2 separate regions of the Homo sapiens genome follow, and region 2 is linked to region 1. The links are contacts of gene promoters, found by promoter capture Hi-C in human tissues and cell types (Jung and others, 2019). All regions are on one chromosome and are shown on one strand. The core of a region is centred on a gene start or on the middle of the fragment in contact, and the rest is flanking DNA. Distances in the headings are between cores, read along the strand shown.

The links. The method cuts DNA at HindIII sites, captures the fragments that hold promoters and counts their contacts. A contact is called where the count stands out against the background at its distance.
Region 2: a contact is called between a fragment that was not itself captured here and the fragment with the promoter of SLC5A10 in region 1, in 3 of the 25 tissues and cell types used here (dorsolateral prefrontal cortex, liver and spleen).

The regions. Positions count from the first base shown.
Region 1 is chr17:18,950,366-18,955,696 of GRCh38, forward strand. SLC5A10 (solute carrier family 5 member 10) reads left to right here and starts at 1,800. Exons shown (of 15, transcript NM_001042450.4): 1 at 1,800-1,951. The coding sequence starts at 1,841. The HindIII fragment of the contact is 13,514 bases long and covers 1-5,331 here.
Region 2 is chr17:18,794,575-18,801,010 of GRCh38, forward strand. It overlaps TVP23B (trans-golgi network vesicle protein 23 homolog B), which reads left to right. Exons shown (of 7, transcript NM_016078.6): 4 at 3,005-3,094; 5 at 4,238-4,369. Among named protein-coding and RNA genes, the nearest start is that of TVP23B, 17 kb to the left of the region's middle. The HindIII fragment of the contact is 3,794 bases long and covers 1,352-5,145 here.

The DNA.
Region 1 (5,331 bases), core at 550-3,049:
TTGATCCAAAGGCGGCAGTTATCACTAAGTGGTTTATTTCCTTCTAAGACCTAGCCAACGGTCTCAGAGCCAATGCTGCTGGTACAACTACTCTATTAATGGGATAGTTTTGGTAAGTCTGGATCCTCCCAGCTGGGTCCTCCTGATCAGTGCAAAGCAGCCTTTTGTTTTAAAACACATTGCAAGCAATGGCTTGGGAAGTAAACACCATCTGAGGCTCGCTGGCCAGAGGCAAGGGGAGACGGCAGGCAGTTGAGCCTGCCTGAGGGTTCTCTCAGCAGTGACTTCCTTTTTCCCTTCCTTCTTCTGCCTAGTCCTGTATGTGAGGACTATTAATTGTTTTTTGTTGTTGTTGTTGTTTGTTTTGTGAGATGGAGTCTCCCTCTGTTGCCCAGGCTGGACTGCAATGGCGCAGTCTTGGCTCACTGCAATCTCTACCTCCTGAGTTCAAGCAATTCTCCTGCCTCAGCCTCCCAAGTAGCTGGGATTACAGGTGCGTACCACCATGTCTGGCTAATTTTTGTATTTTTAGTAGAGACGAGGTTTTGCCATGTTGGCCAGGCTGGTCTCAAACTCCTGATCTCAGGTGATCCACCCGCCTTGGCCTCCCAAAGGCATGAGCCTCCCAAGGGCATGAGCCACTGCTCCTGGCCGAGGGGATTAATTTTTACCCGCACCTCAGGGTTATTGAGTAACAGGCTGGCTGGGTTTGCAGGCCAGCGTGTTCCTGGTGGCAGCCGCTCACTCATTAACACTTCTGGAAGTGCTGCATGTCTGGTTAAACTGCAAATGCTTTGCAAAGTCACGAGTCATGTCACTGAGCAGAGGCGTGAGACTGCCGGCCAGCCCTGCTGTGTACACTGATAGAATTAGTGAGCGAGCGTCCCACTCTGATGGAATCCAGATGGAACTCGTCACTGTCACTGCGGTGGAGACGGTGGGGCCACATCTGCACTGAATCCTACTCTGCGCCTTCAATGGCTGCGTAATGGCGGATGGCCATTTCCTTGACTAGGATGAGACATTGCCTACTCTGCGTGGCTGCTGTGAGCGTGAAATGGGATCATGTGCGGAACAGCCACGCATGGTCCGTGAAATGGGATCATGTGCAGAACAGCCACGCATGGTCCTTGGTGTGTGACAGATATTGGGTCCCTCTGTGGTCCCAGGCAGACATTGCCCGGGGTGGGGGCCGAATGCATGGTCAAGTTGAGGGGCCTGGGACTGTTTCACGGGTCTAGAAAAAGAAAGCAGAAACGCTGGAAGCAGGACTTTATTGTCCGACATGGGGCTGCCTCTGAGCCTGGGCTGTGTTGGCTGGACGTGAGCCATAATGCAGGTGTCCCCCTCCCAAGCCCTGCTCAGTCCACTCACAGCCCGATGGCCAAGGGAGGACATGGCTGCCCGCCACGGCAGTATCTTCAGAGGTGAGGCGGTTGTCCCTACGCTCTATGCTTCTTATACAAATTAGATATAGGTGAAGCCACCCATTAAGCAACCCAGCCTTTCTGGGACTATTTGGGCTGCCTCCGGGTCCACTAAATGCGGTTCATTTTCCCCAAGCCCCCTCCGAGTTCAAGGAGGCTCCTTCCTTTCCTCCTCCCACTTGCTTCTCCCAGGCTCCCTGACTCCTGCGCTCTGGGATCTGCACCCCACCATGGGGTGAGGAAGCTGAACTGCATGGTGAGGCAGCTGCCCTGCATGCAGCCACATCATGGGCTGGAGATGCCACTGTCCGCTTGGTTTAATGATCAATGAGCTCCCTGCCAGGAAACCCTTTCTGACCTGGTTTGCCCCTCAGTCCCTCGGGCTCATACCTAGTGCCTGCGGCAGGACAGCCATGGCCGCCAACTCCACCAGCGACCTCCACACTCCCGGGACGCAGCTGAGCGTGGCTGACATCATCGTCATCACTGTGTATTTTGCTCTGAATGTGGCCGTGGGCATATGGGTAAGGGGACCTGTGGTGGTGTTGGCCAAGTGGGCTCTCAGGGTTGGTGCTTGGGGTGGGAACCGGGGTCCAGCATGTCCCTGTGGTGTCAGCATTGGTCCCAGCTGGTGGCCTAGTGATCCTTGTGGTCCTCCTCCCAGCCTGGGGTAGACTTGCTTGGAGACCTTGACCAAGCCCGTTTCTCTCTTTGGGTAATGGCGTCTCCATCTGCAAAGTGAGGAGGAGGAAATTCTCTCTAACAGGTAACTGGGCTTTTGTGCTGCTGCCCAGCTGGAGTCCTTGGGTGTGGCCCATCAGCCTCCTGGTCCCAGTCTCCATGGTGTCAGTGACTCCTGTCTGCTTGAACAACAGGCTCCCCGGGATTCCCTGGCTGCACCCCAGAGCTGCTGGATCAGAATCCGGAGGCAGGGAGGGCCCTGGGAACTGGGGGTCTTTATTTTGAACAAGCTCCCTGGGGATTTATGTCCTGTGGCCTAGCCCTAGATCATAAGCCGGTTCTTTCTCCCTTCATAACAGTGAGAAATGAGCAGAGATCTGACCCCACACACAGATTCCAGGGGCAGCGGGGCCCCTGGGGACAGGCTGTTTCATGTGCAGATGGAGAAACCGAGGCTCTGGCCCTGCAGCAAGGGAAGGGCTCCTCTGGTCTATCGTGGAGGCCTTCCTGAGGGAAGGTGGACACAGCCTGGTTCAGGTCACCTGCTCCACGCTTAGCGCCTGGGGATGTTGGGCTCCACTTCTTAAGCCCCAGAGGTCCCCAGCCTGGCATCCCTGAGCCCTGACAGTCTCCTGGGGAGAATGAGTACCCCTTCTTTTTTTTTTTTTTTTTTTTTAACTGAGACGGAGTCTAGCACTGTCACCTGGGCTGGAGTGCAGTGGCACTATCTCGGCTCACTGCAACCTCCACCTCCTGGGTTCAAACAATTCTGCCTCAGCCTCCTGAGTAGCTGGGATTACAGGCGTCCACTACCACACCCAGGTAATGTTTTGTATTTTTAGTAGAGACAGAGTTTTACCGTGTTGGCCAGGCTAGTCTCGAACTCCTGACCTCATGATTTGCCCGCCTCGGCCTCCCAAAGTGCTAGAATTACAGGCGTGAGCCACCGCGCCCGGCCGAGTACCCGTTCTTATCTTCCATAACCCCTGGCCTAAGCACGAAGGCCTGGCAAACAGGAGACTGGTCACGTCCCCTCAGCTTCCTGGGCCTCAGTGTTCTGATCTGTTATATGGAGACACCACCTACCTGGGGTGAGGTCTGCTATCAAGGGGCCCACACAGGACCAGACCTTGCTGCTGCCATTGGTTCTACAGTGGTAGCAGTGGTGGTGGTGGTGGCAGTTGTAGCAGTGGTGATTATAAGAGTAGCAGCCGCAGTCATTAAAATTAATTATCACAGGTTGGATTTCAAAAATCTGAAACCCAAAATCTGGAACATTTTGAACACCAACATGATGCTCAAAGCAAATGCTCATTGGAGCATCTCAGATTTTAGAGTTTTGGGTTGGGGATGTTCAACTGGCAGGTATTCTGTAAGTATCTCCAAATCTGAAAGAGTCCGAAATCCAAAACTTTTCTGGTTTCAAATATTTCGGATAACGGCTCCTCAACCTGTATGTGATTAAATATTAACTCACAAGTAGCCCAGTGCTGGCCATCGGCAAAGCCGAGTTCAAGTCTCGGCTCTGCTCTGTGTACTTAAGTCACTTAATCTCTGTGGGCTTCAGTTTCCTCAAACACGCAATGCGGGTTTCTGTGCAGCCCACATCTCAGGGCTGTTCCAAGGAGCAAGGGTCCAATGGAAGTGAAAATCTGTTGCAAACTGTAACGTGCTATATTCCTGTGACAGTTGGTGGCTAGAATTCAGAGGAGGAGGTGCCCACGTGGGGCAGAACAGACAGTGGAGGGTTTCTGGATGAGGGGAGGTAAGGGCCAGGCAAGATCTGAAGAGGGAAAGAGGAGGGGAGACAAGGCTGTCCTGGCTAGCACGTCTAAGAAAGATGTTCTGGGCACCTGAGGCCAGACCCTTTGTAGCCCAGTGACTTGGGCCACCAGCCCTTGTTGCCCATGACCCACCTCTCCTAGTGAGTCAGCTTGCTGTTTGCAGGCTGGTGCCCCTGGAAGTAGGGCTGTAGGAGTTCTGCCCTGTCCCTCCTAGCAGGCTAGGCTGGCCCAGCTGGGAGCGGCTGGCAAGAGAGCAGTGAGCACATCCAGAAAAGATCAGAACCAGACAGGGAGGATGCTGGAGATGCATCCCACAGGGAGAAGCAGACAGAGCAAGCCAGGCAGGTGCAGCCCTGCAAAGATGTTTAGATGGTGGGCCTGGGAGAGTCTGGCGGGGGCCGGGGGGAGGCCTTTAAGGAAGAGATGTTCCTGGAGGAGGGGACTTTGAGCTGAGCCTTTGCATTCATTAAAGTATCTGTTAACAAGTGACTGAAAACTGCTTTCAAATGAGCTCTAAGAATATAGGAAATGTAGGCCGGGCGCAGTGGCTCATGCCTGTAATCCCAGCACTTTGGGAGGCCTAGGCGGGTGGATCACGAGGTCAGGAGTTTGAGACCAGCCTGGCCAGCATGGTGAAAGCCCGTCTCTACTTTTGTATTATTTTGTGATAATACAAAAATTAGCCAGGCGTGGTGCCAGGCGCCTGTAATCCCAGCTACTCAGGAGGCTGAGGCAGGAGAATTGCTTGAAACCGGAAGGCGGAGGTCGCAATGAGCTGAGATCACGCCACTGCACTCCAGCATGGGCAAAAGAGTGAAACACTGTATCAAAAAAAAAAAAAAAAAAAAAAAAAGAATTCAGGAAATGTAATTGTGTCCAGCAATAGAAAGGGCTTCAGGTGCAGTATGATCCAGGGATTCACAGCATTATTAAGGATACAGCTACACCTCACTTTGGTTCTCTCAGCCTCCATCCATGTGTAGCTCTGTCCTAAGCCCAGCTCCCCTCGTGTCCTGATGTGAAATGACCAGCCCTGCGATTGAGCCTGAGTTGAAATCCAGGCTGCACCACTTGCTAGATGGGTGTGTTTTCATCTCTGAGACCATCAGTTTCCTCATTGGTAACATGGCACCTGCTTCATAGAGCTGTTGCGAGGACTAAGAACTCCACACAGATCAAGAAGTTGAAGCCAACTCTGGCATGGGGGCCTTCGGGGAACCTTAAATGGGTACATGTGGCCCCCAGCAACTGCCAGCAGCCCCCAGAGCCCCAGATATAAGAAGGCAACTGGCAATGCCCACTATAGGCTTGAAAGATGAGAAGGGTTAGGAAAAAGCATGGGCTGTAAACATAGATGCTTTGGAGTTGTGCAGTGCACAGCGTACACATCTGGATATGGCCATCCTGGCCAAGACTGTGAGCCTTCAGACTATGCTGCC
Region 2 (6,436 bases), core at 1,999-4,498, 150 kb before region 1:
AAAATAATGGACTACTTGAGTCCAGAAATTTCAAAAACAAGCAATAAGCGTGAGAAATCAGGAAAATAAACTAATAAAGATAAAAGCAGGAAATAAAGAGTTAGAAAATGGGAACACAGAAGAGTTTGAAAGTATTCTGAGAGCATTCTTTGAAAATACCTATAGAAGAGACCTCTGGTTTAGGTCTCCCTTGCCAGCTCTTTTTTTTTTTTTTACTTAGCATCTCTCCCATAGGAATTTTGGTCTCATAAGACTCTTCCTTTTCTTCTCCTGTATTCCCTTCCTAAGGAGTGCCGTTTATGCTTCTGGTTTTAATTGCTGATCTGTAAGCTGTGTTGCCTCCCAGATCTGTATCTCCATTCAGGTTTGTCCTCACAACTCAAGGCCTCTCCATGTGTCTTCTTGACGTTTTTATGTGGCTGTCTTGAAGGCATCTCAAATCTTTTTTTTTTTTTTTTTTTTTTTTTTTGAGACAAAATCTTGCTTTGTCACCCAAGCTGGAATGCAGTGGTGTGATCTCGGCTCACTGCAACCTCTGCCTCCTGGGGTTCAAGCCATTCTCCTGCCTCACCCTCCTAGATAGCTGAGACTACAGGCATGCACCACCATGCCTAGCGAATTTTTGTATTTTTAGTAGAGTCAGGGTTTCACTATGTTAGCCAGGCTGGTCTTGAACCCAAGTGAGCCACCATGCCTGGCCAGGCAACTTATATCTTAACATGTGTAAAATACTACTTGTCATCTTCCACTCCCCAAAAGCTCTTCTTCTTTGAGTGTTCCCTTTCGTGGGGCCTGGAATCACTATTTTTTTACTTGAGCAAACCAGAAATGTATCAGTTGCCTCCTTCCTACTCCATATCCAATTAATGACCAAGTCCCATAAATCCATAGATTGTACTTTCTTCATTAGGGCATCAGTGCCTGCTGCTCTATCTGGAATGCTCTTCTTCCTCCCACATCACCTTCATACAGGGATTCCTAATCTTTTTATGCCATGGGTCCCTTTCATAGACTCATGAATAAGTTTTCACATATATAAAGTACATAAGATTTCAAAGGAAGTCACTTATATTGAAATATAATTTAAAAATATTAGAAAAGTAAATTTCTGATTGAGTTATATGTGTAGTAGTTCCCCCATTATCTGAGGTTTCACTTTCTGCGGTTTCAGTTACTGCTATACACTACACTAAACAGTAAGATACTGTGTGAGGAGAGAGAACTACATTCACATAACTTTTATTAGATTATGTTGTTATAATTGTTCTATTTTTATTTCTTATTAATCTCTTACTGTGCATTATTTATAAATTAAGCATTATCATAGGTATGTACTTACAGGAAAAAATATAGCATATATAAGGTTTGGTATTAACCACAATTTGAGGCATCTGCTGGGGGTCTTGGAATGTATCCCCTGCAGATAAGGGAGGACTACTATACTTTATGAATTTATTAATGGTAAGATCTAGTGGCAGGTCTAATAACTACTTTCAAAGCAGTGGTGAGCGTAAACAATATGTTAAGATAACTGCAGCAAGTATAGTACAAAATGAAAAATGTCTGTGGTTTCTATTGTGTCAGGGTGTTTTTAATTTTACCTATATTCATAGTTTGTTGTCTACATTCATAATTTAATGATATGCTAACTACTTTCAAAGCAGTGGTGAGCATAAATAGTATTTTGAGGCCGTGCGTGGTGGCTTACGCCTGTAATCCCAGCACTTTGGGAGGCCAAGGCGGGTGAATCACTGAGGTTGGGAGTTCGAGACCAGCCTGACCAACATGGAGAAACCCCATCTCTACTAAAAATACAAAATTAGCTGGGCATGATGGCGCATGCCTGTAATCCCTGCTACTTGGGAGGCTGAGGCAGGAGAATCGTTTGAACCCGGGAGGCAGAGGTTGCGGTGAGCTGAGATCGCCCCGTTGCATGCCAGCCTGGGCAACAAGAGCGAAACTCTGTCTCAAAAACAAAAAACAAAACCAAACAAAAAACAAAACTACAATATTTTGAGGTAACTGCAGCAAATATAGTACAAAATAAAAAAATGCCTGTGATTTCTATTGTGTCAGGGTGTTTTTAATTTTACCTACATTCATAGTTTGTTGTCTACATTCATAATTTAAAGATATGCTAAATTTTAGCCAGAGGTTAATGAAAATGAAGGTAACATTTTTTTTTAACCCATCGAGGTTCACAGAACCACTGAATCTATTAGTGGACACCATTAATTAAACATCCATGGTACTGTTGATTCTTATTTATCTTTTATATTTCATTCCAAATGTTGACTCCTCAGAGAGTCATTTTCTGATACCCAGACTAGATCCAATTTCCCTGTTATACTCTTCAAGCATCTCACACTTTTCCCTTGCAGGACTTAACTCAGTTGGTAATGGTACATTTGTGCATTGGTTGTCTGCCTCTCTTCACCTCTTTCCCTGAGGAAGGAGTTGGTATCTGTTAGTCACTGTTGTATTACCAGCACATAGTAGATGCTCAGTAAATATTTGTTGAGTAAATAAAGATTAGGAAAGCTATCAAACTAATTTATTACCTTAGTAAGTAGGAAAAGAGCTTGGTAACTTGAGAGACTGACTGAAGGCCAGTGTCTATAATCATTTTCAGGGATATGTAGTTGTAAAATACATGTAGCTATAGTCAGGATGTAAAGTAGGTCACAGTAACCAAATAGCAAGGGGTTTAGGGAAAATTAGGGAACTGGAGAAAGGGCAAATTGTTCATGAGGGAAAAGAGAAGGTGTAATGTTTATGGGTGGACTTGTTGCTTGCTCTGTCACCTCTACCCCTATTAGTCCTGCCATTACCATTTTACTTAATCACTTAGCCAGGCCTGATACATAGTAGTCTTTGCTAACTGGATATTATGGAGGTAAAGCTGAAGGTTTTTGTTTGTGAAATGTTACACTAAGATAGGAGCTTGTGATAGATCTTTAAATAATGCTTTTAAAATGTGCCTGTTTATATTAATCTTCACCAGAATGTCACAGGTAGACTAATGGTTGGCCTACGTTGGTGGAATCACATTGATGAAGATGGAAAGAGCCATTGGGTGTTTGAATCTAGAAAGGTAAAGTGCCTTTTTTGTTTTAAATAATGTTATCAGCTAAATTATTTGTAGACTATATTTAAATACTGGAAGATGAAGTATTCAGAATTAAAAACACTATACCAAATCACTTGGCATGTCAGCACTAAAGGAGATGGCCTTCTAGAATTTAATGCATTTTTCTGTCTAGTTCAGACCAGAAACAAGCAATATACAGAACAGAATCCTTTGAGGGAAGACACTGGGTCTGAGTTCATACAGTGTGCTAAGCTGCCTGTCAGGGATTGCTGATAAAAGATCTCTGTGTTGCCTTTGTTAGTGTCTCCATAAATCCCTCTATGCTCAGCAGATAACTGCTTTTAACATCTTGTTCTGTCTTTGCTCCTGTGGTCGTCTTTCATTTCTGGGCAGGAAAAAGGAGGAGGAGTGCAGCTGGATAGAATATCTGATCGGAGCACTCTATTCCTAAGCTTCTGCCTTCAGGAGCCCTGGGGATCCTGGTCTGTTTTGGGTTAGCCTGCTACACTATAGTGAATATTCACTTTCCTTGTGGAAATAAGTTTTGGAAGCAGAGGACCAAATTCTTGGCGACAGTACACCAAGGGTATTGACAAGTTATTTTAAGAAAGTGGCACTGTGTTCAATGAGCCTGTATTCTTTTATATTATAGAATCTACCTTGGAAACAACTTACCACCCTTGTAACTTCCTGGGTATTGCTAAGACATTTTGATTATTGTCCAGAATCCCTTGATTCCGTTTTTTTTTTTTCCTCTGGACCCTAATTTGACCTTTTAGTCTCCAGAATGATTATAACTGTGATTTCCTTGATCATTGGTAGGAAAGGTATCATTTAGAGCTTCCTTATGAATAAATAGTACAAGTGCAAGAAGAATTGAATAGAATCCTATCAGAGACCACTCTTTACTGTCATGAGTTGTGGTAAACCATCCATCCTGCCCTGAAAATGCAAAATTCTTGAGTTAATATAGATCAGTTCCTAAAATTACAAGAGTGATAGTCATGTATTTTTGGGTTCTAACTTAGGAGTTGGGCTGTGTGTATTAATATTTGAACTTGTGGGTAATATGTTTTTTATTAAACATGTTGAACTTTTTATTGATAAATTTCACAACATGATAATTGAATTTATGTTCTTTTATAGGAGTCCTCTCAAGAGAATAAAACTGTGTCAGAGGCTGAATCAAGAATCTTTTGGTTGGGACTTATTGCCTGTCCAGTACTGTGGGTGATATTTGCTTTTAGTGCACTCTTCTCCTTCAGAGTAAAGTGGTTGGTGAGTATCAGTGTAGAACTTTCAAATAATCCATTAAGATGTCTGATGGTAATCATAGGAAGCAACAACTACAACTGAGTCCTTATCATTAGGGACCTATCTTGAATAGGCAGCTTCATCATGTAATTCCCAAGTTTTGCTTCCCAACTTTACCTTTCTCTATAATACTGGAGAAGAGATCCTAAAAAACCCCTTCCCACCAGTTTTCTAGATTATTAGTGGTCTTTTCTGGAAATAATGGTTGGTAACCTATTGCTGCCTAACAAATCACTCCAAAACATAGTGGCTTAGAGCAACAACAGCCATTATCTCACAGTTTCTATGGGTCAGGATCTTGGGAAGGGCTCTGCTGGGAGATTCTGGCTTGGGGTCTTGAGTAGTTGTAGTCAGACAGTAGTTGGAATGATGGGGGTTGTGAGCCATCTCCTCTTCATGAGGTCCCATGGCCTCTCCACATGTTTTTCCCTGTGCCTTCGTTTGGGCTTCTTCATGGCATGGTGGCCTCATGGTGGTGGGACTGCTTACGTGGCAGCCCAGTACTTCACTTGTGGGGTGTTCTAGCTCGCAAGCTTTTACAATCTAGCTAAGATGTCATAGCATCGCTTCTGCTGCCCACTCACATTCAAGGAAATGGGAATTAGGCTCTGCTCTTGATAAGGAATAAGAAGGTGCTAGAAGACTTTGTGGAAGAGGAGATATTGTTGCTGCTGTCTTTGGAAAATATAGTTTGTCACTTGACCCAATTTGTGAGTCTTACTCTTTTTTATATCTCATATTATTTTTTCTTATTCTATCTTATATCTGATATGAATAAATATTGTGTGAATTTTCACACAATATTTATTGATATCAGATATATTTTGGCCTTAATTATGTTTTTCCTCCTAATTTGTAGTATTTTCTTAGTCCTATTTTGCGATATAGATTCTTTTTTTCTTTGTGTGTGCTCATACATTCATACTTTCCTTCTTTGGATTTGGAAGCTTATTGGAAGCTTATTGTCTTTTTTCAGTTCTTCTGGTAGTTACCTTTAATTACTTTATATGTTTATATCATTACCCTCTTTCATGAATTAGGAAATTTATTCAGTATTTATGGAGTTCCTGCTCTGGAAAATGGGAAACTTTACGCTAATATGGTTTCTTTAACTTCTCCCTCCTCCTACCTCTAGAGTTTTGCTTATTATAGTCTTATTTTAGTCCTTCTAGTGGTTTTCTTTGTAACATTAATTAATGTACTTAAACCTGTTTATTGACTTAATAGACTCTGTTTAGAAAGGGAAGAAAATAAACACTCATATTCCTTCCTATGAGTTTCCTCCTTTCTCTCTTGTTTGTTCCAATGTTATTTTTGTGTTACCAAGTTTTATAATAGTTATCTTTTGAAAACATATTTCTTACTGGTTGTTTAGTCTTTGATCTGTTTTTTAAAAAAGTCGATTCATTGCCTATCACCAGTCTTACTGCAGCTTCTCCTTTTACTTATTGGTTGGCTACATTTTCTTTTGACTCATGTTTAAACATATGAGCCTATTGACTATTCTTAAATGATGACCTGGCTGGATTAATATTCTTGGGTCACAGTTTGTTTCTTTTTGGAAGATGCTATTCCATCATTTTCTTTCACTGAATATCTTGGAGAAGTCTGAGGCCAGGCTTACTTAACCTTTGTAATCTCTCCTCATAAGGTGTTTTTTTTTTTAGTTCATGTAACCCAGATGTATCTGTATTTATCTTTCCATATCAAGTTTTCTGGAGTCTGTGCCTTTCTGACAGGCAGACCAAAGTTTTGCTTGGAATCAGGAAAATTTTTTCTGTTAAATCTTTGCATTTATTTATGTTCTATGGTTTGACCTTTCATTTTGAAGTACCAGTTACGTTTATGTTGGATCATTTTTATTTGTTCTCATCTACTATTTTCTTGTTGCTTTAATTATTCATCTTTTCCTTATTTATTCAGCAATTTTAAGAGTTCACTCTTATGTCAGAGCTGTCTGGAGACACAGGGGGATAAGTTAGGGGACAGTAAACAAGTTGACTGCTCCAGTAGAGCTTATGTTCTAGTGGA